6 separate regions of the Homo sapiens genome follow, and all the other regions are linked to region 1. The links are contacts of gene promoters, found by promoter capture Hi-C in blood cells and fetal thymus (Javierre and others, 2016). All regions are on one chromosome and are shown on one strand. Each heading gives the region's core, a stretch centred on a gene start or on the middle of the fragment in contact. The rest is flanking DNA. Distances are from core to core; before and after follow the strand shown. Region 1 holds the start of ACYP2 (acylphosphatase 2). Region 2 overlaps RTN4 (reticulon 4). Region 3 overlaps SPTBN1 (spectrin beta, non-erythrocytic 1). Region 4 overlaps EML6 (EMAP like 6). Region 5 holds the start of LOC105374653 (a long non-coding RNA gene). Region 6 overlaps SPTBN1 (spectrin beta, non-erythrocytic 1).

Region 1 (4,883 bases), core at 1,703-4,202:
CAACTTTTAAAGTCAGAGAGATGTAGAATCAAATCCCATTTGTCAACTAAGGGCTTGTCCAAGTTACTGAATCTCTGTGCACCTGTTTTGTCCTTGTTAAAACAGGAATAAGACATGCATCTCACAAAATTGTGATGATTAAGTAAACAACAGTGAAATGCTCAGCACAAAGAACACCCATAATAAATGTCACACATTCACACACACACACAGACTCCTTCACTACTGCCATTTGTCTCTAGTGGACCATTCTGTCAGGTGATCTTTGCCACCACTTTCGTATTTTACATTACGTGTTTTGGTGACTTATTGTGGCAGTTTTCAAAGCAGGATAACATACCGCTGGGTTCACTCAAAGACTTTCTAAAGAGTACAGATCCATGCATAATGTTCAGGGAATCAATTTCCAGATCTTCAACTTCCACATATATTCCTTCCTAAAACTGACCTGAGACTCCTTTCCTACCTCCCTTTGCACAATCATCCTTTGAAAGAAAGGTCTCCTGTTATCCTAAGTGAAGTAACTCATGAATGGAAAACTAAACATTCTATGTTCTCACTTCTAAGTGGGAGCTAAGCTATAAGGATGCAAAGGCATAAAAGAATGATACAATGGATTCTGGGGAGTCAGGGGGGAAAGGGTAGGACGGGGTGAGGGACAAAAGGCTACACATTGGGTACAGTGTAAACTGCTTGGGTGATGGATGCACCAAAATCTCAGAAATCACCAGTAATGAACTTATTCATGTAATCAAACACCACCTGTTCTCCAAAGACCTATAGGAAATAAAAATAAAATTAAATTAAAAAAAGATCTCTTTACAAAAGGCACACTTTTACCCATTCTTAATCTTACCCTGGTACACTGCACCAAAGTGTAAAAACCTCTAGAGTACCAAATACAAGGATAATTCAACTCTTCCACCAACCGAGGTTCCATAAACACCCCCAGTCTTCTCATTAATAAATTTCTGGCTGAGTGCAGTGGCTCACGCCTGTAATCCCATCACTTTGGGAGGCGAAGTGCAGGAGGATCCCTTGAAGCCAGGATTTCGAGACTTGCCTGGGCAACAGAGACCCTTTCTCTACAAAAAAATTTTAAAAATTAGTCATGCATGGTGGCATGAGCCTGTAGTCCCAGCTGCTTAGAAGGCTGAGGCAGAAGATCACTTGAGCCCAGGAGTTCCAGGCTGCAGTGAGCTATGATTGTGCCATTGCACTTGCTCCAGTCTGGGTGACAGAGCAAGACTCCATCTCTTAAAAAAATAAAATTAAAAAAATAAACTTCTAACACAAATTTACCTTTAAATTTTAATAATGTTTATCATACTTTTTATATTTTCATCTAGTGTTCTAATAATAATTTCAATAATAACTCCATCCAGACAAAAAATTTAATACTTGGAGCTGTTGAATACAATGAGTTCTAAATTTCTCTTCAAAGAATCAGTATGTCAGTATGCTCGGTTCTTTGCGCTCTAAAGTCTAGCTTCCTCGTTCTCCTCGCCTCTAGTTTCAGTAAACAACCTTTTCCACCAGTTCTAATCAGTAGTTCACCTCTATTCCTCTGGTCACCTGCTCCATCCTGAGTCACCCCTGGTCACCTGCTCTGACCTGAATCATCCTGAGTCACCTGTTCTGTAACCACCCTTCCTGCCAAATTATTCACCCCGCCACTTGAGCTCGTACGCCTGCTCTTTAAAATAGCCAGTCGGAATTAGCTTAGACTGTGCGGTCCAACCCTAGCCAGTAGGGGAAAGACACAGCAGTAGAGGCTACCTGCATCAGGAATAAGAACCCCTTCCCCTCCCCTGTTCAGGTGTGCCGTTGCCATTGCTTCATCCGCGAGTCGCACCCTTCTATAGAGGTAAAATTGCCTTGCTGAGAAAATTCTTTGAGCGCTAGTTCTTCTTTTTGGCACCAAAGAACCAGCATTTGTTTCTAAGAGAGCCTTATTGTCAAAGGAAATTAAGAAAAAGCATTACACTTATTCATACATGTGCATATATGTACATATACATATTGCAGAAAAGTATGATAGGGTGAGCAAAAAAAAAAAAAAAACCCTCAAGCAAAACAATGGGGTAATTCGGTGGGAAAAGTGAAATGAAAATCAAATTCAAAGAGGAAAAGAAATGAGTAAAATTTCCCATTGTTGAAGAGTTTTATTTTAAATGAAGATGGTGGATGTTAAATCACTACCCTATTTATATTCCATTGCATAAATCTCAGAGTGACTTAATATTTTCATTTATAAATATCAATATTTTCAACAAGCCAGACATTACAAACTTGGCAACTACTTAAACTTAGGATGAAACAAAAATTAGATAACAATTTCATTCTTTTAAGAGCTACAAAGAGGTCTAAAAAAAGGTTTGACCTCTGAAAAATTAACCTTAAACCATCTAAGTGTCCTTCCTAAAACTCAAGTCAAGCCCAGGTAGCTTCAGTGGCAAGCAACGAGACCACTAGTTAAAAGACCCTCTTCTTTTCCTACCCAACTTCAACATTCCCCCGTGCCGCTTACTCCCGCACCCAGCAGCCGCCCACTTCTGGTCCTCAGCAGTCCCCTGACCCCTCCTCTCCCGCTCCCCCACTTCCCTCCCCATTCCCGTACTTCCGCCCGTCCAAGTCCTCGGGCGCATGCGCGTTTCGCCTCCCTCCCCGCCGCCGCTGCTGTGTCATGGCGGAGCGGAAGTCCCAGCCACAACGGGAAAAGGCATACTTTAGGTGGGAGGCGCTTCTCACAGCTTTCTCCCCTTCCTCCCATAACCTTTTTGATCTCCCACCGTAGAGGGGCCTCCTACCCTGCACTCTTCCGAACACCTCGTAGTCCACGGATTTGAGTGACTGGGCGGTAGACATGGCGGCGGCGAGCCCTCTGTTGAGGAGCCGGAGAGGGGCTCGGGGCGCAGCGACTGCGGCGGCTGCGAGAGGGAGGGGACACATGGGACTGCTTGGCGCACCCCGCGCCTGTCACCGGTCCCGGACGCTAGCGCGCCGGGGTCACGCGTCGGAAGCGGCAAATGAGACTGCGGGGCCTGGGAGCGAGGGCAGCCGGGGACGCCAGGAGGGAAGAGGCCGCTGGGCCCCAGGCATCCTAGGCCTCTCTTCCCGGACTGGGGAGGATGCTGTCTCCACAGCGCTCCCTACCATTTAATTGATCAAGGTACTCTGTTCTCAAAGTTAGTAAATAAAAGCCGGATGCTGTGCCCAAAAAAAGAGTGGCTTCCCCCAGCTTTATTAAAGTGTAATTGACAAATAAAAGTTGGGTATATTTGTGGTGTACAAGGTGATGTTTTGACATATGTATGCATTGTGAAATGATTACATCAATGAAATTAACGTATCCATTGCACCATTTTTTAATGAAGAGAACATTTAAGATCTACTCTCATCAATTTTTAAGGACACAATACATTTATCGCAGTCACCATGTTAGACAACAGATCTTCAGAACTTATTATTCACACTAACTGAAACTTTGTACCCTTTGACCAATATCTCCCCATTTCCAACCCCTTTCATCCCCCATCCCAGGTCCCCCACCCCACTCCATCCCAGCAAGATTGGCTTTTGAAATCAAGGGCCTGCGTGTTTAGTGTTTTGAGAGTTAGTAAATTATTTATGAAATGTTTAGGTGACTACCAAGCCAGCTTTTAAGATAAGGTCTGCAACATCTTGAGCTCTTCTGTACAGTCAGGAAGGAATTGAGCCTGAACTCGTATTCTAAACGGATTGTGATATTTTCTGGGATAAGAAACTTTTTAAAAATATGAAGTCTTTTATGCTAGTGGAAACAGACAAAAGAAAAACACTGTAGTCATCTTGTCTGCTGTTCATACAGTTTTTTTGGTGTGGGTTTGTTGCTGTTGTTTTGAGACGGAGTTTCGCTCTTGTCTCCCAGACTGGAGTGCAGTAGTGCAATCTCAGCTCACAGCAGCCTCCACCTCCCAGGTTCAAGAAATTGTCCTGCCTCAGCCTTCCAAGTAGCTGGGATTACAGGCATGCGCCACCTCACCCAGCTAATTTTTGTATTTTTAGTGGAGACGGGGTTTCACCATGTTGTCCAGGCTAGTCTCAAACTCCTGACCTCAGGTGATCCACCTGCCTCGGCCTCCCAAAGTGCTGGGATTACAGGTGTGAGCCACCACACCCGACCTTTTTTTTTTTTTTTTTTTTTGATTGTCTTGATTATTCTCAGCAACATCCCAATTGCCTAGAAGGTTAAGGCTGAATTTTATTTCCTGGTGAGCTATTACCAAGTTTTAATATAAAACCATCCACCACTCCAAAGGATCTGGATACAGCTATTGATAATCTGCCACCTTCTAGAATTCCAAATCTGTTTACTTGTGAGAATTTGCATTTCTCTATTTGTTGGCCTCAATACCTTGGCATATTTCTCTGCATCTGGCCACACAGTTAAAATAATCCACTGCAATCTGATTCAATATACTGTGCCAATTCTATTAGAGAACACCAAAAATCATCCAAAACTTGGTTAGAATATGGTTAAATCATTTTTAAAGTAAAATATATTCTGGAAATGCTAGTGCAGTTAATTTATGTAGTGAAGGTCTTAGTTTATTGCAGAGACCTCGTAACTTAACTCTTCCATCTCCCAGTTCATTCCATGCAGACTCTAGAATCAACATAAATTTTAAATCATTCTTCTTAATACGTTCAAAATAGAACCTAAGGTCTTCAGCCTCCACTACCTGCTTATGCAAATCCTGCATTTAAACTATAGTCAAGACACTCTCGGTTATTCTGCTCTCTCAGTACAGAGGTTTAAAACAAAGAACCTCTTCTCTTGGGTCTACTCTATCTGGAATGCCTCCCCCTTCTCCAAAATCTTCCTCTATCCCGCTCAGTCA
Region 2 (4,882 bases), core at 1,543-4,042, 890 kb before region 1:
AGGAGTTTTCTGTGGCCTCTCCTTTGTGAGCCTTTGCTTTTATGGGAAAAGAGGTTCCTGTCTCAAATAGTCAAAATGCCATTCTGCAAGTTGAGACATGTGCTCTACTTGAAAATTGTCCTCAAAAGAATTAATTTTTTTAAAAGTTAGGTAGTTGAAGGAAAACAAAATAAATGAAGATAAGTTTTTAACAGATTTATGTCCTTTCTTTATTTGACTTGTTAAGTTGGGGTTCATTGTGGAATAGGACCTATAAACTATGCAGATGTACATTTTTCTCAGCTGGAAAATAATAGAACTATACAGCAACGACAATAGTTTGTGTATGAGAGGGGGCAATTCTGTTTAGAAAGATTGGGTTATTGCCTAGAGTTGAAGGACTTAATATATGAGCTTTCTTAGATGTGCCTTACTTGTCTTGTTGCTTCTTAGTTTGATTGTTATTTTTAGCATACTGATAAGTAAATAGCACTTACATAGTGCCTACTTTTTGTCAGGCAATGTCCTAAAGCCTTCTATTTTTAGTAGAGATTATATGATTTTCATAATAAACATAGCCCATCTGGCTTTACATCTTTAACAAATTTGTGTCATATCAGTTTTTCAGATTTAAGCACTTTTTTGCTTAACTTGCCAAACTTAAAACAAGTCTAGTTGAAAAACTTTGTGAGAAAGAACTGGGCAAAATGTCAGTTGATTTCCACAAGCTAGTTTTCCTTGTACACTTACAAAGACCATAAAAATTAAAGAAGTAGATGTCACTATGTAGGCTGAAATGTTTACTAAACTTCAGGGCTCCTATTTTGACTTTTTAATCTGTCAGGGGTGCTATTAAGTATGTTTAATGTTTAGATGAGTGGGTATGTCTTATTACACATTCTTGCCCCTCTCAGACTTTTTTCTTTAATTGTTAAGCCAAATCAAGTACCACGGAAGATACAAGTAGTCTTAAGTGCCGAGTAACTTGATCACAGTAAAACTTTTTTCTTCTACTAGTGAAGTAATCTCTGACTTGAAAATAGTGTTTGAGTACTATAGTTGAGTGTTTTATTCTAATGCTCGTTATTTATTGGCTTTCAGTTTTAAGGGACTTGTTATTAGAAAGTCAGTATTTTGTATTTACTAAATAGTTTGAGATTCTGAATGTTGCGTGGAGAGGCCAGACATTTTCAGGCCATGATATGGCTTGCTGACCGGGTTCTCAAATATCACATTATGCAGGGGTTCAGTGAATAAAGTTTAAAGTTAAATATTAACTCGAGCTGAGAATACTGGGCTCTTTTAAAAATTACTTTTCTTTATTTATGTTTGGAGTTAGAGAGGCAGATAGGGAAATAAATGTGTCATTGATATTCAAGCCACTTCCTTTTTCCCCTCTCATTTTCCTAATTTTAGTTCTTTCTATGTTTAAGTCTTACATGTTTTGTTTTTAGTTTTTTTGGGTACATAATAGGAGTATATATTAATATCAAGCCACTTCTGATATTAAGGATTTTGCAGCCCACAGATAGCAGGTTCCAGAAAATATTATCTCTATTTCATTTTAGCTATACAGTCTTAAGTATGTATTTTTGTACATAGGCTACGTATCTTATAGTATTTTCGCAAATTGCATTTTAAAATATTTTAGCTGATTTGTTAGTGCCTTTTCTGCTTAGGCAGATATAAGTATCAGGTGAATTGATTGTGGAACATAAGTAGAGACACTGCATTGGAATGAAAATCAGTTTTATAAAGTTGAACACAGATTTTAAAAATGCTGTACATAGATTTGTTTTTATATTTTTCAGTAAAATTTTAGGCCAGGTGTGGTGGCTCATACCTGTAATCCCCGCACTTTAGGAGGCTGAGGTGGGAGAATTGCTTGAGCCCAGGAGTTTGTGACCAGCTTGGACAACACAGGGAGACCTCATCTCTAAAAAAAGTGTAAAAATAAAAAATTAACTGGGCATGGTGGCACATGCCTGTGGTGACTGAGATGGGAGGATCTCTTGAGCCTGGGAGGTTGAGGTTGCCATGTGACCAATGATTGCACCACTGCACTCCAGCCTTGGTGACAGAGCGAGACCCTGTGTCAGAAAAAAATAAAAAATAAAATAAAATTATAGTTTGCTTTTATGTCATTTTCCCATGGCAGATTATATCATTAGCCCATGAATATATCTCCCCAAGCTAAGAATCTATTAATACTGTCTGTAGAGGTGTCTAATAAATATTCAAAGATTGAGTTGGAGCAGATGATGATTAAGAGTAAGTGTATGTTTGTAAGTCTCTGGATTTCCATAATTGTAAAAGAGGAAAAAAGATATTAGGAAGATTAAGTTGCTAAAGTTTTCTGTTCAAATAATATGTTCAATAAACATTAGTAATTTGACTTTTATTTTCTGTTTATCTCTTCATAAGGTGCAAAATGCTGAATGTTTTACGTCTTAATGAACTTAGGAGCAATTAAGGAGACTCATCATTTCACAAGCTTGAAATTTAGGCTATTAATATTTGATCAGTCCATTTTTATCTTATTAGGTAACCATTAATTTTAGAGTTTTAAATGAAACTGAAAACCAGTAGCATAATTCGACCATCTGTTAAAAAAAGAAAGAAAAAAAAACTGCATATGGCTTTAATTGCATTTCAGATACATTCAGTGGTTAGTTCTAAGAACAACCCTTATTTCCTTTCTTTTGGTAGCCTGCCCTCTCCCTGCAAATGCAGCTCCATTTGGTATGAGCAACAAGGCAAATGCCTAAAACAATCAACAGATAGAAGGAAAGCATTAATGCTGGAGTATTAGTAGCCTAGTTACAGATTGCACTGCGTCAGACTGTTCCACACCCAGAAGACGTCAGGTGACTTCAGTCCTGCTGCAGTTGTGCAGCAGAGGAGACTGCAGACTTCGGTTGAGGAAACGGGTATTTCATGTCTCAGGGAGTAGGTTTGTGCAGTTACAGCTTTTCTGTTGGTATGCATAATTAATAATTGGAGCTGCAAAGCAGATCGTGACAAGAGATGGACGGTCAGAAGAAAAATTGGAAGGACAAGGGTATATCTGCTTTTTAATTTCTTATTCAGTTTTTATATGTGACCACTAATATATTTCTATGAATAAGCTTTGGAATTTAGATATTTTGGATTGAAAGTGAAACCTCTGAAGAGTTGAAGTCTAAAGGATTAAAACGGCTATCTCACGTGTTTTTACATTTGGTTGTATACCAGAAAATGTCATGCTGTTCTGTTTCACTGGCATTCGGTTTAGTCTTTTCAGTCCTGCCGTTTAGGTTCTGTTCTCTAATCTTGCACATTGTAAACAATATAGATCTAACAGATTTCATTTGTTCGTCACTTGGATGTGGTAAATACACATTGCTGTTTTTGTGTTTCACAGTGACATATTTTCCGTGACTATTTTAAAAAACCTTACTTGGTGTAGTTGAAATTCTGTGCAAAGGTTTGTAGGTAGCAAGATATTGTGTTTGCAGTAAGCCTCTTCTTTGAAAATCTGATTTGAACCTTTAAAATTATTACCAACTTTCTTTTAATCAGATTATGTGCATCTTGAAATCATTCAAATTACACAGTATAATTACGCAGTAATTTTAAATGCATGTCTATATTTAAGTCACTAACCTTTGTCCTTGTAATAACCAATCAGTGATTTTGATCCCTTTTCCTCCCCCTTGAAAGCCCAGATCCTTTCAAATCTCAGTGGATCATTGTGTAAGAATTTAAGCCTGTAAATGGTAAAATGTTGACTAGAATATTTAAAGAATATTTTATTATGTAGATGGTTAAATCTACCTTTTTTTCTTTAAAAGAAAGTGGTAGGCTGTATATCTGACCACTTATAATAAATTACCTTTAAATTATTAGAGCTATTTTTAAGTAGTCCAAAATAGACATTCTACGTAAGCAATTTTTTTCCTGGCTACATTCAAGTTTTATAATTAAAAAAAATTATTTCCTTCTAGCAGGATTGGCAACAATATTTCTAAAAGTATGTAGAGCTAATTACAGTAACTTTTACAATGTCTTTTTAAAAATTTGTTCAATAAAGATGTGGGGAAAAGGTGAATTTAAGATTGAGACCATATTGAGACATTGGTAAGATTTTATGGTTGCAACTTAAAAAATAATAGAAAACAATACAGCTTTGGGTTTTGCCTTTAGGATTTCTTTACATGTGAATTTAAAGAGAAGGATTTTTATTTCTTCATCCTGTTAGCCGTTGACGTTACAGATTGATGAATTGATATATGGTAGCTTTTGCTAAGTGAAAATGATACAAATGATAATAATACAATAAATACAGGCCTTAAAAGTAGGTGAAAAGTCGTATCAGGGCTCATTCTGCAACTATTAAGGTTCTTTATTAATAACTTAAGTCTTAAATCATTAAATAACATCTTAAGTTCTTTATTTGTTGAAGTAATTTAAAGGTATTATGAGACAGGAGAAATTAAGTTCCAATGTAGTTCATATTTTTTCCAGAGATTTGTTTGATTATTTTTAGGTACTCAAATGTAAAATTGAATTTACTCCTGAATATCTCTGGGGAGCCTCACTTTGTAAGTGGAATGGCCTAATATTTTTTAGTACCTGTCTGGCTGTTTTGGTCGGTAAGATTAACTTTGCCTGTTTTTCTGAGTCAGTGGTTAAATTATATTTTAGTATTTTCTCTATCAGCAGACAATTTTATTATTACAGAGTAATATTTAAGATTACAGAGTAAGGTTTAAGTTGGAAATCACTGAGAAGTTGGAAGCTGTCATGGAATGAGTTTTTCCTCATCTAAAAAAAAAATAGTTTGACAGCAGAGAAGGAGCCTAATCTAGGGTCTAGGTAAATTTAAAAAATATACTTAGGCATTTTTCTACTGCATTCTCCC
Region 3 (4,605 bases), core at 1,281-3,780, 540 kb before region 1:
AAGTGTTTTAAATAGACTCTAGACAGAAAAATACGACTACAGGAATGCCCTATGCCCCGCTCCACCACATAAAGGCAGCATTAGAGGTTGCCATGGAACTCTTACCATAGCAAAATAATTAGCCCTTTGGAAGTAGAGAATAATTGCTGCCCTCTGTGTGAAGTTACTTAGAACTCTCAAAAAACGCATCACCACAAAATCACTGGCCTAAAATCTGGGCAGTTCACTCCATGCATTTAATCATATGGAAGTTCTGAGCATCCTGTGTGTGTGCACACAGGATGAGAAAGGGCACTGTCTACATTCTACTTCTGCCACCTACATACCTATGTGACTGTGGACAAATCAGTGCCCTCCAAGGTTATTTAGGGATAACTGTACAGCCTTTAAACAGTCTATGGAAGCAATCAGTAGGCAGGGCATGTGGTTAGGCCTAGCAATGCAAGGCTTCAGAAAGATGCCCCATAAACCTCATTGGCCACCGAGGCTAAGGGTCCAGCCTCTGGAGCTGCTGGGACTCACCACTGCTGCTGGGACTCGGCTTCCTCTGAAACCTTCGTGCTCGGCTCGGGAGAAGGCGGCCGCCTCTTCCTCTCCTCTTCCTCTTGCTGTCTGCGCACTTCCAGTAACTCCAACTAAGAGAAAATAGAGTGATGTTTGGTAGAGTCCCAAACTCTGCCTCTTTTCAGAAAAAGGTTCTAGGAACCCAGGAAGTCCTCCTGTCTAGTTTGCTAAACTGGACCACACTGGACAAGAAGCTCTAACATCCTGAGCCAAATGGAATTAGGTTCACAGGAACTGCAGCTACAACCTAAAACTACAGGAAATAGTCTATTCCATGGGCTGGCAAAATTCCTGTGAGTTGTTTGTAGGACCCCTGGGAGCTTGGGTTTAATTTCTAAAGTAACTATGCAACTCTCAACTCTGCTGAGGAGAAAAGTACCTGAGCCTGAGGGTTCATGCTGGACTCCCCAGGAGAGCTCAGACAAACACCAGGGACAGAGCTGCAATAATTCTCAAGGAAGCCGCTTGTGCTGTGGTGGGGATCTGTGTTCAGCCAAAACCCAAACAACACATTAAAAAGCCACAGAATAGTCTAACTGAAACAAAGCCATTTCATGAGTCATATGGATGTACCAGAAGTACTCTGTTTTAACACAAATGTATGCAGGTACATTTTAAACACCCAGAACTGGAAACCAGAAACACCATTTTTGTACACTGCAAAGGATCAGCTTTCTACCAGGAATGCAAAAGTCTTGGGAGAGGAAACACCAGTGCACAAATCCTATTCTAAGGCCTTTATGTTGACAGAAGAGGGGATCAGGACTGGGGACTTAACAACAGGCTAGGATTAAGCTTCCATTTGATGGGAATTCTAATTCTGAAATTCTGAAGAAAATTTTGAGGCCATGCCCCCTTGAGAACAAAGCTTTTATGAGATAGGGGAGAATGAAAGATTCGAAGAAAAAAGCAAACACCACCAATCAACCCCCAGGCAGGAAGCTACTATAAGGGATCATAAATCCAGGTGCCCAGGATGTGACTGAGGAGGTAACAGTCCTGACCCTCTCCCTAGGTCCTGCTCCACAGGAGCCACCCATTTTAAGATGATCTTCACTACTTGAAAAAAACCCAAAAAACAAAAACAAGCAATCGTGTGAATTCCCTGGTCTAAGAGGCAAGCAGGAAGAAAAGGCTGCCCAGGGCACCAACAGACAAAGGGCCCAGCGGCCACTTACTGTAGTCAGCCTTTCCAGGGCAGAGAACCTCTCATCCCAGGTTGCTGCAGACTTTTCAAATGCCTCGTGGCGCTTGATGAGCTTCTCCACCTCGTCCACGCTCTGGCCTATCTCTCGGCTGGATAGGTACGGCTCCTGTCCAAGCAGCCAGGCCTCGGCCACACTGGCGTCTCTTGAGAACTGATGGACCTCCAGAACTGCACAGGGTACCATGAGTTAGTACACGTTGACCAGGAGGTGCCGGGCAGTCATATGGCCTTACCTCTTGGCACTGCTGCCCTCTGGTGATGGCTACCTGCATAACCAGTCTATCGTCTACTCTAAATTAGCCCTGTCCAATGTAAATGTAATGTGAGCCACACTTGCAACTTTGACTTTTCCAGTAGCCACATTAAAAAGAGTAAAAATAAATAGGTGAAATTAACTTTAATAGTGTATTTCACATAATATGTATAAAATTATTACAACATGTAATCAATATGAAAAAAACTATTGAGATCTGTTACAATCTTTTTTCTTCTAAATCTAAATCTGATGTGCATTTTACGGCACACATTCACTGCCCATCTCAATTTGAGACATTTCAAGTTCTCAAGAGCCACACGTGGGAAAGCAGCTATCATACTGCTCAGCGCAGGTCTACAGTGAACGCTCTGTTCACTCGGCCCCACTTCATGAGCTAAGCCTTCAGAGACCTGCAGGAATTCACAATCTACACGTAGCCAGATGGGCAGGCATTCTTAACTCGCCCTCTTTTGGGCGGTAGTTGTGTGTTTTATTTTGGGGGGTTTAGAGGGAGGGAAGGATATGGGAACACTACAGATGGTGGGGACCAAGGCTTTTGCTCTGTTTCATTCTGTTCTTCCACCTGTGAGGAAATGGAACACTAGTTCCAACATAGTTATGAGAAGGTAGGTTAGAACCAGGCTTTCTGCTATAGTTAACACTGATTTTCACTTCATTTCATGCAGCAAAGCCTGGGATCATTGAGGTAAAAAATGGACTGTGGGCAGCGTTGGTGTCCCAAGGAGCTGGCTAGCTATCTGCTTTCAGCACCTCGGTAGCCCCCAACATGACTACATGAAGAAGATGCCACCTCTGCACTAGGGACTTACTGGCTTTTCAAGGCAGGGACTGTGCATATCACTGTGTCCCTGGTGTACAAGCTGGTGCCCGGTTCAGTGTGTAATGTGGGTTTTGCTGAGCTGAATGAAACTGCCCCACAATTCTCAAAACATACAGACCAAATCCTCCTGCAAAGAATGGTCAAAAAGTGGGATTTCTGAGGGCTCTGGGCCCAACAGAGTGTGCCGTCAAACCTCTCAGAAAAGGCCCTTGCATTTGGTTTCTAGTAAACCCCCATAACATGCATAGATGGAGTTAGAACATAAGGACAGAGCCCAGAACTCCAACAGAGAATGGCAAAGCATGGTAAGCAATGCTAGAATTGCGCTGTTAGTGCTCATACCAATTATGAAATGCTATTCCTAATACTGTACATTATAAACCCTGTATTAGCTCACATATTCCCTTATAAAATGAGAATTAAAAATAGAATCTAATTCACAGGGTCACTTTGGGGAATAAACACAGAAATACATTAAAAAACCACTTAGAACAATGCCTCATTCACAGCAAAATTTTAATAGATGTTAGTTTTTATTATGTTATCAACATTCCACTAAGAGCACCAAATATGACTTAATGAGATCAACTTTCCAACTTGATTCTGTAGTAAGAATTCTTGAAGACAAATGGGGGAGAGGGCTTCTATCTGTATTCTCCCAGGGAGGTGCCCTCTGTCATCCCTAAAGAACATCCAAATCCCACCTATGACACTGAGATCAATCAAGAGGTGAAAAATGACTACGCCATAGGAAGCTTCTTAAAAGTAGTATTTACCATGAAATGGTGAAACGGGGCACTAAAAAGGCATCTACAACTCGAACAATCTTTAAATGATAACATTAATGAATTAAAGCAAGAAAATAAACGTGCATGTTTTCCATTGATACCCAAAAGAGCAGAAAGATAAACTACATCCTTACTCAGTCTTAACCATTCCCATCGGTCTTCCCACTTGTCGATCATTTCTTTCCTCTTTTCCGTCAACTGCAGTAATTTTTCCTTGATCTGTATGAAAAAGAGGATCCCCGGGACATCTTAATGGAATGCACCACATCCTCTTGATGGGGTCATTTTATACTAGAAAAATACATTTTCTGCAAAGACCACCATTAAGCTGGGAGATATCTAAGGACTGCTCAGTCTGTCTGAGGACTGGGAGAGGAAAGAAAAGCATAGCACTGCTCCTTCCAGAAGGGGCTGGAGGAAGGCGCGGAAGCCCTGCCAAAGCTGTTTTGTCGTGAGGAGGCTCCCTGCGGCAAACACGTTCAGGAGAGGGACAGCAAGACGGACAAAGCCCTGACCTCTTGGAGAGGATGCCCATTCCCATGCAGGGGGCCACACACGCACCTAATAATTTACCTCTTTATTACCACCATCCTAACCAGAATCACCAACCATGCACTCAACAGCAAACTGATCTAGGGCATAGTCAATGGACATTGGCGTCACCTAGAAAGAGTACTGATTGGGGAGGATGCGGAGTCCATTTTGTAGCCCTCAAAAATTGTCTTCTGTGCCAGAGATTTACCAGCCTGGGCCTAGAGTCTTGCATAATTGCATTATTCTAGACGCACAGGAAAGGAGTTTTAAAACATATGTGTGTGTGTATAAGAATGTAAACACAGTATCTCTGACACACACAAACATATAAAACAAAGTCATTTTACATCTTGACGCCAGCTGCAGCTCCAAAGCAAAGTAGCAACCTACCTCCTCAGATGCATAGTGTTTTCTC
Region 4 (4,986 bases), core at 1,917-4,416, 610 kb before region 1:
GGAGTAAATCTTGATGACCTTGGATTAGGTGATGGTTGCCTAGATATGACATCAAAAGCATAAAAAAGAAAAAATTAATAAATTGGACATCATCAAAATGAAAAACTTTTGTACTTCCAAGGGTACCACCAAGACAGTGAATAGGACAACTCACTGAATGGGAAAAAAGTCTGCAAATAATATATAAGGGACTCATACCCAGAATATGTAAAAAAACTCTTAGAACTCAACAATAAAAAGACAAACTGATTAAAAATGGGTAATAGATTTGAATAGACATTTATCCAAAGAAGATATACAAATGGCTAGTAAGTTTATGAAAAGATCATCAATATCATTAGTCATGAAGGAAATGAAAATTAAAACCACAATGAGATATCATTTCACACCCAGCAGCCTGGCAATAGTAAAAAAAAGACAGACAGTAGTAAATCTTGACGATGTGGAGGAATTGGATCTCTCATACATTGCTGGTGGGATGCTAAAATGGTGTGGCTGTTGTGGAAAACAATTTCACAGTGCTTCAAAAAGGTGTTCAGATCCACACCTTGAGGATAGGAGAGGCTGCAGGATAGTGTTGCCTAATTAGGGCTGCTGCCATGTGAACAGTTTTTCACCTATCACAGTGTCATCCAAATGACTGATTGATGGGGTTGGTGGGACTGATACAATTCTTTATAAGATAGTATAGTTCAGCGCAATGTTTTCAAGCAGTGACCCATTATGTGGCAACCACATTTTCCAAAACAAAACACAGTCATATATATATATATTTTTTTTGACAGGGTCTTGCCCTGTCACCCAGGCTGGAGTGCAATGGTGTGATCACAGCACATTGCAGTCTTGACCTTCCAGGCTCCCAAGTAGCTGAGACCATAGGCACACGCCACCATGCCTGGCTAAATTTTTTAATTTTTTGTAGCAATGGGGTCTCCCTATGCTGCCCAGGCTGGTCCTTAACTCCCAGGCTCAAACGATCCTCCCACCTCAGCCTCCCAAAGTGCTGGGATGACAGGAGTGAGCCTGGACTCATATTTCTGAATTAAAAATTAGATTCATGATGTCACAAGAACAAGTATCCACAACAATAACTGAATGGAATATTTGTGACTGTCCTGGGAAATCTAGGGCATATGGTACCAAAACCCATGAGGCATTAATGACCTGGATGAGAATTACAATGACCTTGGTCTTTCTCTGGCTATCTGTACCAGAATTTTAGGCACATTAAGTTTCTTCCCACCCTGGCACTTTTGCACATAACCTCTTCTCTGCCACTACATCTTCACCTGTCTTCCCCTTCACACCCTTCAGGTTTCTGCTTAAATGCCATCTCCCTAGAGAGCTGCTCTGGAAATCTTGCCTAAGGTGGCTTCCATACCCCCATTCAACCCAGTTTCTCTGTGATTATTTTTCTTCTTAGCACTTATCACAATCTATAGTCATCTTATTTTCTTGTCCATTCACTGTTGGCGTCCCCCATCAGAAAGTAAGCTTCGAGGCGGCAGAAACTTTGTCATGTTCACTGCTATACCCCCTGCATCTGGCACATTATAGATGTAAAATGAGTTTTTGATGAATTAACAAATATGAAAGAATAAATTACACCCAACTTAGAGAATAAACAAATCTTAATAAAAATCACAAGACTATAATTTATTAATAAGAAGAGCAATAATGCAATCATTTATGAAGATCATTATAAGCTTCCGTCAAAAGCTTTCACTTTGCGCTCTTTCCAATGCACAGAGTAAGTGGGATCCAATGAGCAGTAGGATGGTACCATTGAGTAACTCTGATTAAATCTCTTCCCCTCGCAGAGCCATTTCTCAGTGTAAAATGAGAAGACCTATTTCTCAGTGTTGAGGGTGGGAGAATTCAATAGGATGACATATACATGAAGTGTCTGGTACAGAGCAAGCACTCAACTTAATATGGATTTGATTCTTTGTAGTTACCTCCATATTTCTCTTATTCAAACTGGTCAAGGGACTAAAGAATATAAAGTCACATCTCTAGGCCTTCATGTGAACTTGCTTACCTGACACTCCAGGCCCAATCATGGCTGTTAGACCTGTCTCTTCAAATCCAACAAGTTCAATTGTATTTGCAGCACTAGATTATTTGAGCCATGTCACAATTTTGACTAAAATAATTTTTTTTAATTAAAATCTCTAATAGATCATTGTTTCAGGTCATTGTTCCAAAGCTGTGGATATTTCTCTTTTTTAAATTTTTTCTTTTCTTTTTTTTTTCTTGAGACAGGGCCTCACTCTTGTCGCCCAGGCTGGAGTGCAACAGCACAAACTGGGCTTACTGCAACCTCTGCCTCCTGGGCCAAAGAGATTCTCTGGCCCTAGGTCCCGGAATATCAGGGACCACAGGCACCTGCCACCATGCCCAGCCAGCCCTTGTATTTTCTGTAGAGATGGGGTTTTGCCATGCCACCCAGGCTAGTCCTGAACCCCCAAGCTCAAGTGATCTGCCCACCTCAGCCTCCCAAATTGCTGGGATTAGCCTGGCCGAGCTGGGGATGTTTCTAAAGCAAACTTAAACATGGTCCCATTTCCAGGCAGAATTCTAATGATCTACTTCAAATATTCTTGAATAAATCAAACGGTTTATAGACCAACAGAGGATAAGCAAGTTACAAAGAGCAACAATCTACTACCTTCTGGTTAGGAAGAAGGCACAGTTGTAGGGACCACAATATAAGAGGCCATAAAGCAGTGAAGCCAAAGCTTGCAGCTTTGGAATCAGACCAATCTGGGTTCCAATTCCCATTCCACAGTCTGCCAGACAGTGACAACAGGCAAGATCCTCAACCTCTCTGTGCCTCAGCTGCCTCCCCTGTAGCCTGGGGTTAGCAACAGTGCCTATCTCACTGGACTGTGAGAGGGTGGATCAGATCAATCGATATACACATTTAGTTCTGAGTTTGGCACTCAGGAAATGTTAGCTCTGGTTATAAAATTCACTCTCAGCCTCAAGAGTCTTATATACGCTTACAAATGAAAACAGAATGAAACGATAGCCCTAAATGATACATATTAAGTGAGCAGCATCGGTCACAAAACACACAAAGTTTTGGAAGTGCAAGGTGCCCCTTCATCTGAGGATGGTACAAGGTCTCATGGGAGAGGTGAGACTGCAGCAGATAGGGCTTTGCAGGATGCAGATGCAAACAGGACCCTGGTGCTGCACACTTACCACTGGCCAAACATTTTTGTATGTAATCCCCACAACAAACTACAAAGGAGATACTTTAAAACTCCATTTTATAAGTGAAAAGTTGTTTCACTGATGAGATAGTTAAGATTCGAAGAGGTTTATTAAAGTCGCCAGCTGGTGGCAGTCCTAGGTTCAAACTCAAGTATGACTGACAGCAAAGTCCAAGCTCCCACTGCTATGCCATTGGAGGGGTGCGGCTGGACAGACAGAGAAGGGCCAGCGGGGAAGATGAATCATTCCACTGTGAGGCAGGGAAGAACAGAGTCATCATATGGCAAGTGGGAAGCAAAGAATTTATGATTTTTTAAAAAAGGAAAATAAGGATAGGATGGTAGGTTAGGAGAGAGAACAGAAAGCTTAGGAATCTGGACTTCTGCCTGTGAGCAATGATGAATCATTGTTTTGTTCTGGGGGTGTGTGTGTGTTTAGTGAAATACTACTTCTACCACAACTAAGAATATTTATTGAGCACCAACTAAGGGCCAGGCCCCACACTAAACCCTTTGCATACATTTTTTTCTAATAGTTACAACTCTGCAGTTTAGGTATTGTCATTCCCATTTCACAAATAAACAAGGCCCTGAAAAGTGATGCCACTCACCCAGATACCCCCGGTAAATGGCAGAGTGGGATTTATACCCAAGTGTGCATGATAACGAAGTCAGTGCCCTTTCCCCTAAAGCAGCATTGTACATAAACCTCCTTTGCAAATGGGAGCCGGAAAACGAGGCAGAAGAACCTGGAGACAGGGAACTAGCCAGAAGCAATACATATAGTGGTCCAGAGTGAGGAGATAAATGTCTCAACTGGAATCACTGTGAAAATGGAAGGGAAGTAACAGAGGATGAATGTGTTCACAGGCTTTTCTTTCATTTACTCCCATTCTCTGTGTCATGTTCTACTACCTAAAGTAGAAACCAAGTTAGTAATTATCCCAGTCTCTATTACTGTCCTTGGTATCAAGCCCTGATTTGCATCTTGTTGTTAGCCCAATAGCAAATATTACTTTAAGTATTCACTTGTTCTATCACAATGTTATCAGGTCTAAAATATGGCATCATCTTCTAATCTGTTATCTGAATTAAAAAGTAATATTCAAGAGAATAAAACTAAGCCTCCACATTCAGTAAATTATATTATGCCTCACATAGCAACATCTTTAAAAATCTGACTTAGACATATAGCCTGTCAAAGCAGAAGGACACATATGCTGAGCCCTAATGAGCTCTGCCAAAACCTACATTATTATTAGGGTTCATTATGATCTTGGAGATCACATGGTTTTATAAAATGGAGTGTGTTATCAATACTTGTTGGGCTGCTTTCTAGTTAATATTCTTGGCAAAACAGCACAAAAAATAAAGCAGTATAGATGTATGCATATGAATATATCTTTCAAACTAATGCAAAAGCTATGTACCAAGTGGACAATTACTTATGCTATCTCACCTGATGGAAACAAGAATTAGAAACGAACAAGTTTTGATATTCATGTAATGATTCAATAAAAAACCAAAACACTTTTGCATTAGAACCTTAGCTATAGTCCTCTCCATTTAATAACAAACTTCAATATTTCAGGTGGAAGAATAGTAGTAACCGGGATACACAGAAACGAATTAAAATTCATAAGGACAAAAAATTGTGCATTGTGGTTTGTGCAGTGTCTTCACCAGAAAAAGATATTTACATATGTAAGACAAAGCAAAAGAACAGCATAAACATTCCAATTTCATAGCTCTTAATTCCATAATA
Region 5 (4,620 bases), core at 929-3,428, 560 kb before region 1:
AATAGTCCTTGAAATAAGCATCACAAAGTCTTGTAGAAACACAGCAAAATGTTTATGATGCATATGTAAGTAAAAATTGTATGCAGAATAGGTACTTGTGATGTTTAACTATGTAGGATTTGAGGCATGTGGGCCAGTGGGTTGTTAGAGTTAAAAAAAAAAGGAAGAATGCTTTTTTTTTTTTTGAGACAGAGTCTCTCTCTGTTGCCCAGGCAGGAGTACATGGGCATGATCTCAGCTCACTGCAACCTCCACCTCCCAAGTTCAAGTGATTCTCGTGCCTCAGCCACCCAAGTAGCTGGTATTACAGGCGTGCACCACCAGGCCTAGCTAATTTTTTTTTTAAGTAGAGATGGTGTTGTGCCATTTTGGCCAGGCTGGTCTTGAACTGCTGACCTCAAGTGGTCTGTCCGCCTTGGCCTCCCAAACTGTTGGGATTACAGGTGTGAGCTACCACACCTGGCCCAAGAATGCTTTTATCATACTGTCTTTCCTGTTCAAAATATTGCATCTCTTACCAACATGTTTCACTAAAAAAACATGAGGTCACCAAATGCCTATTTAAGGAACTGAATTTTTATTTTTAAAAATAAAGTCCCCCAAGTGATGCTACTCATCTGTTTCTTTGGGGAATCCCAGATGCCTGAGTTAATGGTCAGAACATCATTTGGCTGGGAAACAATCCATATAGGTGCAACTGTCCCTGGGTGCGTGGCCCCGTGATTGGGTGCAGCTCCCTCTCAGTCAGTTCTCACTGTCTTATCAAGACTCCATCTCTGAAATCTTGAAATGCATCTTGAAATGCAAGGATCCTTAATCCATTTATTCCTTTGACAAACAGAAAATGAGCCCTTCTGTCTGTTCACGCTTCCCCTCTTTCCTCTTCTGAGAAATGGAGGTCTAATTGCTGGCATGGGAAAGAGCCTTGTTTTAACCGTCAGCTCCGCCCTAGTGGATGGAAGACAGGGTTAGCATGCCCTGTTTTTCATACAGCACCTGGGCTTGTAAAATGGAACTAAAGAAGGAAATGATGACCAGGCATCCAGAAGTCAGCTCCTGTCTTTCTATGCTCTGCTAGAAAAGAGAGGTTGTGAGCTGAGGGACATCAGGAGAGCAGGAAGACCTGCAGGAAGAGCCGGCTGGGCACCCAAACATGGCTGTACCTCAGAAGATGCCTGTGCAGTTCAGAACTTGGAGGAGATGGGGCCGCAGGTGCTGAGGAGGCAGCAAGAGTCAGATGCAGTGACACAGGGGAGGTCAGACATCACAGGAAAGAGCAATGATGGAAGTCAGGGAACGAAGGGGCCCTGTGGCCAGTTCAGGGGGCTAGAGTGAAAATCTGACCTATCTCAGCTGCAGCCCATCAGTTCCTGTAGCTTGTCTTCACATCCTTTGGCTAGAAAGCAGATGAAAGAAAACCTGTCCACAGAGGCTGTGGGCTGAGCCTCTCCTCCCCACTTTTTAAACACCAGACACCGACATAGGCTTTATGCTGAGCTGTGATTTATCTTGCCAACCTTCTGAGGCTACAGAGTACCCAGCTGTTTGGAGGGTCCTTCTGCCCTACCTTTCCTCCTTCCTTACTTCTTTCCTTCCATCTTTTCTTCCTTCCAAATATTTATTGTGTCCCCACCACACACTCTTTATCTGAACTTAAATTTGATCCGAAAAGGACTTCAGCATGTATTGACAGTTGAAATCCAGGCAGCTACAGATTTGTAAGGCCAGTGAATCAGGCATCAGCTATCCTCTAATTACATTGCACATGTATTTGAGAGCAAAGCTTGCACTTGCATAGCTAAACTCTAGAGTCACATGGATGCTCAAGGAGTCAGTGAAGAGCTGTGGCTTCAAGAACCCAGCCTTGCATGGCTGTTGAGTGGACATGACACTGGGTATCCAGTCCTTTCTCTGAAAGCCCACGACTGGGGCAACAGCTTACACACATGAGATGCCCTCTCAGCTGGCACTGGTTCCATGACCATCATTCCTCAGCCCACAGAGAAGTGCAGGAAAAGAATCTAGGTGGGGGACAGTTAGTGTAGTCTGAGAGTGTGGCCTCTGGAGAGATGTGTCAGAATTCAAATATCCAGCTGCGATTTGTACAAGTACTTAACTCTTTAAGCCTCTGTTTTCTTCTTTGTACAATGAAGACATTGCCTGGTAGAATTGCTGCAAGGATTTGATGAGAACGCAACTTGAAAACTTAGCACACTGCCTGGACAACCTTATAGTTGGTTACCTATTAATATTAGCAAGATGAAATCATTCCATTTGGAGGAAAACAAATGGTGGAAACAAAACCAGTGGTTCAGAGTCCCATACCTAAATCACTGACTGATTTTTTTCAATCAGTTGTCCTGACAGGTTCAGATCCAGCGTGAGCTCCTGGCTTCTCTCCCTTTTCCTATGCAGTGTGTTCACACTCACACATCCACTTGTTACACAGCGCAGGATGCCACTGAGATCCTGAACACACACCTCCTTCTCAGCTCAAGATATCAAGGCAGCTGAATGGAGATGAGGCAGGGGGAAGGTCAGTCCTGGGGTCAGCCAGACCGTGTTAAAGCTTCAGAGCACTGTGGTCTTGGTTCTACCAGCTCTGGCTTAGCTCAGTCTTCTTTTCTCTGGGCTGACAGTTCAGGTTGTGGGTCTAACAACACCTCACTAATAAGTCTCTACCTCACAGGGTCATTGTGAAGGTTGGAACGAGTTAACATGGGGAAAGTGCTAAGGGCAGCACCTGACTGACGCATACAGTAGGCGCCTGGCCAAATGCTGGCTGTGTCAGAGCCAGAGCAGAAATGGTATTCCTCTTCGTTCTGCGCCAAGTGCTACAAGGACAGCCGCCACTAGTACTGGTGCCCGATGATCTGAGACACGAGGGGGCCATCAGGTTATGTTCCAGCTACAGCGCTGCTCCCCCTCCTTCCCCGCTTCCTGAGGCAACTGTGATAGAGAAATGATGGAAATCGTGTGTCACAGGTGAAAAGAGAACATAAGGATGGGTTCATCTTCGCAAACTTTTCTCCTATGGAATTGAAATTTTTTCCCCACCTGAGGAAAGCCAGACATTCTGCCTTCTCACCTTTTCCAAACACCAGTGGCACCCTCTTCCTTTAAACCCTCATGCCCGAGTAAATGGCTTCCCCGGGACCCGGGCTCAGTGTCCCCAGCCCAGTCACCCTCCTATCTACAGCGAAGCTCTCAGGCACATGGGACACCCTTGGCTTTTGGGTCATCAGTTCTCTGGGTAATTTTACCCCCTGTCAGAGCTGGAGACTTTGTAAATAATAGGGTGCTGAGCGATGAGGGAGCTGCAACCCCGCCACGGGGCCAGGCAGCAGGGACAGTGTGCACCACACAGATTGTTTCCCAGCCAAATGATGTTCTGACTCCTCAAAGAAACAGAAGTAGCGCCTTTTGGAGGGCCTTATTTCAAAAGAAAATACTTTCTTAGGCTGACTTTTGGTTAATTTGTAAATTTACTGCATTCCCATATCAGCTCCTGTTGCTGATGAGCTGTGCCAGTGTCTGAAGTAACCCCCCAATGCCTGGTGGAGAAGGGAGCTCGGGAGGTGGTAGCAAGGGGAACTAGACCCCTAGAGGTCCTTCCTGCTTGTTAACCTACATTTGCTCTCTGAAGCCAGGTATGCCCCAACTGAAGCACCTCGGAGGGAAAACACGGAGGTGGTGTTGCGGGGGTGGGGTGGGGGGTTATCAACACCTGCAGTCAGGGGCAGCCTTGAACACAGGAGCAAATATGCTTTAAAATAAAAGAGGCTCCTGCCTGACAGACTACCATGGGAGAAAAGGAACCGATTTATGGAGTGTGGCGTTCATCAGTTCATTTAATCTCCTCTAGAGGCCAAGGCTCAGATGAAGCAGACGAAGAGGAGTCTCACATTTGTAAGCGCCACAAGGGCTGCTTCCCAGCATGGCTGGTGCGTGGTGGGTGCTTTGCAGAGGGGATAAGGGAGTCTTTTTTTACTTGTCACGGGGCTGGGAGGTGAAGGAGCCACCATTCAATCTGGCTTCAGAGCCTACCTTCTTTCCTCAGAAGAGCAGAGGCTGAGCAAGCTGGATGAAGTAATCCAATCATGTGTCCCCAGGAAAGACAAGAGTCCTCAAATCCAAGTGGGGAGATGACAGACCCGTGTAACAGATGGCAGCTAGGAGAAGGCCCCGTATGCACGCCTGCGAGCACTGGCTCAGAAACGCACGCTCCTTACAGCCATTATTATTATTATTTTTGAGATGGAGTCTCACTCTGTCGCCCAGGCTGGAGTGCAGTGGTGTGATCTCGGCTCACTGCAACCTCCGCCTCCCAAGATCAAGCAATTCTCCTGCCTCAGCCTCCGGAGAAGCTGGGAGTACAGGTGCCCGCCACCACGCCCAGCTAATTTTGTTGTATTTTTAGTAGAGATGGGGTTTCGCCATATTGGCCAGGCTGGTCTCAGACTGCTGACCTTGTGATCCGCCCGCATCGGCCTCCCAAAGTGTTGGGATTACAGGCGTGAGCCACCAAGCCCGGCCACGGCCATTTTAATTAGGGCTGTGGACATTCCCCTAAGATGGAAGATTAAAACCTTGAGCGACTGTTTCCTCCGAAAAAAAACA
Region 6 (4,291 bases), core at 1,792-4,291, 520 kb before region 1:
TACTCAAATGGGTTACTAATGCTTGCGTGTCACTTAGAAGAGGCACTCCTGTCTTCAGCCTGTCTGGCTCCGGGCAAATCCCCCAGAGACCTAGATTCATCAATGTGGTGCTTAAAGTTGACAGACCCTAAGCTTCATAGTTTAGGGGCTTTCCTTCTTAAGGTTTTGCTGCAAGAGCATATTACAAGATTTACAGTAAGACAGCAGTTTAACGGATGCAAAGGATTGCTTCTGTCATACGTGATCTAACGCAGCTGTCACTGGAGCCGTATTTCTTTTAATGCACAGTCACACATTTGCATGCAGGGTGTCTGTGATGATTGAAGTTGTATTCCCAGCGTATGACCTGATTCTACCCCCATACTCTTAGCCCCATCAAGGTTCCTGCAGCTTTTTGTGGATATTCCTCACCCCATTTTTGCCTGAGGATTTTTATTTTAATAAACCAGAGAGGGCTGAGTCTGTTATTCTCCGGCAGACAGAGAAATATGGTGTGCTCACGAACTCACACGTGAAATCAGCTAGATACTATTCTCCAACTAGCGTGCAGAGAAACTACTTTTTTCTGGCCAACTTTAGTTTTCAAAGTTTGTGCATGTATCAGAAGAGCATGAAATAGTACAATGATCATCAGATTAATGCCACATTAAAACTTGGTGCTTGGAATCAGCATTACTGCTCTTTGCATGTTAGATACACATGGGAACAGCCTGAAAGATGGATAGATGAAGGTCTTAAGCGAATAAGAAACTAATTTGTCTTTTGAAAATCTCTGCTTCTTACTTGGTAGCCAGTTTCAGTTCCCTTTAGTTCTTTCCTTCCATATCATTGAAATGTACATTGCTTTAAAGAGTGAAAGCATGACACTAAATACTTCTAGGTTGCACAATATTCTAGGACATCAATATCCAATACAACTTCCTTTGACGACAGAAATGTTCTATATCTGTGTTGTCCAACATGGTAGCCACTAGTCAAAGTTGGCTACTGAGCACTTAAAATACAGCTAGTGATGGAAGAACCACGCTCTTAGTTTTATGTAATTATAGTTAATTTAAAATGAAATAGCCAACCAACCATAAAGACATTGTGGCTGGTGTCTACTGTAATGAACAGTGCAGTACTATACTATTAATATAATAGTCTAGATTATAATGATCTAATTAAGCTGTACCTTGTAGGCTGGAGAACTGATGAAGTGCCACGTATCCCTGCCTGCGAGTCAAATGGGTGCTATGGATTTCTGGTTTCATTAATTTTATAATTCAAAAGGCTCTTGTGCTAAATGCTGGCTGGCAATTGCTATTACTGGAACACAGGAATAGAGGGATTAAAGAGTAACATACCTCTTGACAATCTTGCAGGAATTTCTGTAGATCCCTGTTGTCCTTCAACCTCATCAAAAGTTCACTGGCTGTCTCACGATTCTTCCTATGTCTATTAGAATGGTAACAAAAATAATTTTTAAAAAAGGAAGTAGAGAATCTTGAAATACAGAATACAAATCAATTTATTTCCTGAATTCCTAACTATGCTAAAAAGAGTTTGCTTGCAGTTCTCAATAATGTGAAGGAGACAAGATAAAGAGATTTTAGCATCCTCCAAAGGAGTAAGCCATGGTCCCAGAGAGACCCAAAAATCTGCCCAAACCACACAACAGGCCGAACATACTGTCAAATGATCTATACAAATTTGTTGCTTCCTAATCTGGTGTTAAGAAAAAAATATGAGCACACGCTTTGTACAAGTCCTTATTTTAGGCACCGGGGGAGAAGTGGAAACTTATTTTCAAGAAGCTCATAACTGGGTGACACATACAAGGCTAAGAAAATATATATAATCATGTAACTGGCTTTAAACAAATGTTTCCTGATAAAGAGTTTCTCATCTTGAAAAAAACTCACCAAAAATACAACAAAAAGGAATGAAAATTTTTAGACCTGTAAGACTATATACTAACTCAATCCCACTTTTAATCAATTGATAAGGGTAACTAAAGCTCAAAGAAGTTAAAACACAAAACCTTAAATAAATAACTTGTAAGAACTGGAAAGAGCTGCTGAATTTGGTAAACGCTAAGGTAAAGGGGGTGCTCGCTCCCTACTTGGCTCCTTCCCCATCTGCTGTGAAGGTGCCAGCACTCTTTGGCAAACTTCCTTCATGCACCCAGTGGCTTAGAGACTGGAAACTGAGAAATAGCAGCGTGAATGCCTAGCAAAGGATTGCCTTCCAGTGGCTCCACTACAATAGCGGAGAGCTTCATTTCCAATAGGGGAGGACCCACTGAGGATTCAAAAGCACTGCCACACATACACTTCCTTGATACTCCTGAGTTGCCTAAACAAGAAAGCCAGTCTATATTCAGGGTATTAAGATGGATAAAGGCAGAGTGCAACTGAGGAGAGCTGGGTTTTCATTCGATTCTTAGAGCAATTTCTCTCTGCCTGTGCCTGCACAAGGTCTCTCCTCTATCCACCAAACCCTGAGGCAGGGATGAGGAAGAACACATAGCCTTGGATTCTCCAACACGCTGAGTAAGAGCAGCTTGGTGAACACGTGCTGCTGACCGGTGTCTGAAGAAACTTCCCCAGGAGAAAGAAAGATCTTAGAGTAGAGATGCATGCACCACACGGGCCCTCAGTGGCTGCTGACAATGCAGTGTCATAGCCATTGTCTGCCTGGAGAATCAAAGGGAAAAGCCCTCTGCCCCTATAGCTCCTGCAGGTACCAGTGGCTACAGAACAGTAGAAATTATACATATTTACATGTTATAACATCATATATAATTTATATTATGTAAATTACAGTATTACATACAATTATTGTAAATAAAAATATCATTAGGCATATGTTAGACACAAATAATGCCTTTTTAATTTTTTTAAGTTGAAAGGAGTTCCATAGCATCAGGAAAAGGGATCTTAATATGCTTATACCACATAGGCAAAATGCAAACGTAGAAAAATAATTATACTATAATGCTAAATGAAAATAGTTTATACATATTAAATGATATAAAACTCCAAGGCATGGGTTAGAAAGCAAACACTTAAATGGCATATGCTACAGATGGGATTAAGGGCAGTAGTTTTCCCCTTGAAAATGTCAGACATTTACTGCTTTTACAACAACAAAAAATAATAAAGGCCAGAGACATTTTATGCCATTGCCATCTATCATCAGAAACCAAAATTAAATTTAAAAAAATAAAAGATTGTTAGTGAATTTGGGCTAAAAAGAATTAGTCATCTAAGAATGTGGATGGGTTAGGAATGTCAAAAGGAAATTCCCTTCCCTCAAATTCCAGTTCTATTTCTAGGGGAGTTCAAGAACGCAAATCTTTAGAAAGGAGATAATATGAGTTGGAGTTTAGTGACAAATGCAGGAGTCCTGCCAGTAGTCAAAGGGATAAAGGATTCCATTCCCTTTGGCATGGCATCTCATTGAAGTCCTACAGTGGCAGGGAAGAATCCCAGATACTGGAAATTAACAACAGGACACACATCCTCGCCTCTCACGGAAATAACAGAAATGAAAGTAACTTCAAACACTGGAAAGATTCATTAAGGGAGAAATATGACCATACAGAATCCTGAATGTATTTCTTATATAATCAACTCTCATGCATGCCCGGCAGTTACCGGCCCAGGCAGCCTTTCTCCTATAGTGGGACCATCAAGATGGGAAGAAAGAGGCAAGGATTTAGAGTCACATGTCCAAATGACACCGATCTATGCGCAGGTGTGACAACGGCCTTCGTGTGGTGTGAAACACAGCCACACAGGCATCTGGGACTGCCGCTGACTCAGAAGACGCTTAAAAGAAGTGAGTGTGGCTTAATGGTTTACTAGTGCAACGGACATCATTCGTGGGAAGTGAAACTCAGGAAATTCTCTCCATGTTGGATCACGGATTCAATTACAGGGAAGGGCCTGAGAAGGACCTTTTAAAACTAGGGAGTAGTTTCCACAGTCTTAAAGAGTGCTTTTCCATCTCTCACTTTCTCTCCCTGTAATAAGACTCAAAAAAGCTCCCTCATCACATGAAGCAGATGCGGGTGTTCTGGTTTCTGTGAATAGTCAAGAACCCCAGGTGCCTGAGTGAAACAGCTGGGTAACTTCTGAGCCTGTTTTCCGGTGTGAGACAGGGTCTTGCTTTATGAAGCTGGATACTGTTCCTTGCTCCCCATGAACTGTGCTGTGGCTGGAATTTCCCTCTTGGTCAGGAGCTCCCTCCCTCCCTGTTCACATCCCCTGGGGCAGGCTGAGGACAGTCTCTTCCCACTCACAGG

Evidence for each region. The method cuts DNA at HindIII sites, captures the fragments that hold promoters and counts their contacts. A CHiCAGO score of 5 or more calls a contact.
Region 2: a contact is called between a fragment that was not itself captured here and the fragment with the promoter of ACYP2 in region 1, in 1 of 17 cell types (fetal thymus). The highest score is 5.2, in fetal thymus.
Region 3: a fragment that was not itself captured here is called in contact with the fragment with the promoter of ACYP2 in region 1 in 6 of 17 cell types (megakaryocytes, endothelial precursors, total B cells and 3 more); the score reaches 7.3 in megakaryocytes.
Region 4: a fragment that was not itself captured here is called in contact with the fragment with the promoter of ACYP2 in region 1 in 3 of 17 cell types (endothelial precursors, fetal thymus and activated CD4 T cells); the score reaches 6.8 in endothelial precursors.
Region 5: a contact is called between a fragment that was not itself captured here and the fragment with the promoter of ACYP2 in region 1, in 1 of 17 cell types (endothelial precursors). The highest score is 7.9, in endothelial precursors.
Region 6: a contact is called between a fragment that was not itself captured here and the fragment with the promoter of ACYP2 in region 1, in 2 of 17 cell types (naive B cells and total B cells). The highest score is 7.8, in naive B cells.

What each region holds. Positions count from the first base shown.
Region 1 is chr2:54,113,684-54,118,566 of GRCh38, reverse strand. ACYP2 (acylphosphatase 2) reads right to left here and starts at 2,952. Exons shown (of 4, transcript NM_138448.4): 1 at 2,811-2,952. The coding sequence starts at 2,868. RefSeq lists silencers at 2,504-2,563, 3,054-3,123. The HindIII fragment of the contact is 9,756 bases long and covers 1-4,883 here.
Region 2 is chr2:55,008,245-55,013,126 of GRCh38, reverse strand. The region is part of intron 3 of RTN4 (reticulon 4); the gene reads left to right. Among named protein-coding and RNA genes, the nearest start is that of RTN4, 40 kb to the left of the region's middle. RefSeq lists a silencer at 1,989-2,048. The HindIII fragment of the contact is 634 bases long and covers 2,476-3,109 here.
Region 3 is chr2:54,655,184-54,659,788 of GRCh38, reverse strand. It overlaps SPTBN1 (spectrin beta, non-erythrocytic 1), which reads right to left. Exons shown (of 36, transcript NM_003128.3): 28 at 4,581-4,605; 29 at 3,791-3,875; 30 at 1,743-1,939; 31 at 523-635. Among named protein-coding and RNA genes, the nearest start is that of SPTBN1-AS2, 23 kb to the left of the region's middle. The HindIII fragment of the contact is 2,191 bases long and covers 1,435-3,625 here.
Region 4 is chr2:54,727,409-54,732,394 of GRCh38, reverse strand. The region is part of intron 2 of EML6 (EMAP like 6); the gene reads right to left. Among named protein-coding and RNA genes, the nearest start is that of EML6, 6.2 kb to the right of the region's middle. The HindIII fragment of the contact is 846 bases long and covers 2,744-3,589 here.
Region 5 is chr2:54,674,063-54,678,682 of GRCh38, reverse strand. All of the region lies in intron 1 of SPTBN1-AS2 (SPTBN1 antisense RNA 2), which reads left to right. It overlaps LOC105374653 (a long non-coding RNA gene), which reads right to left and starts at 4,301. Exons shown (of 3, transcript XR_940104.2): 1 at 4,048-4,301. The HindIII fragment of the contact is 786 bases long and covers 1,786-2,571 here.
Region 6 is chr2:54,634,859-54,639,149 of GRCh38, reverse strand. SPTBN1 (spectrin beta, non-erythrocytic 1) reads right to left here. Exons shown (of 36, transcript NM_003128.3): 18 at 1,347-1,437. Among named protein-coding and RNA genes, the nearest start is that of SPTBN1-AS2, 43 kb to the left of the region's middle. RefSeq lists enhancers at 3,894-3,953, 4,194-4,291. The HindIII fragment of the contact is 5,814 bases long and covers 135-4,291 here.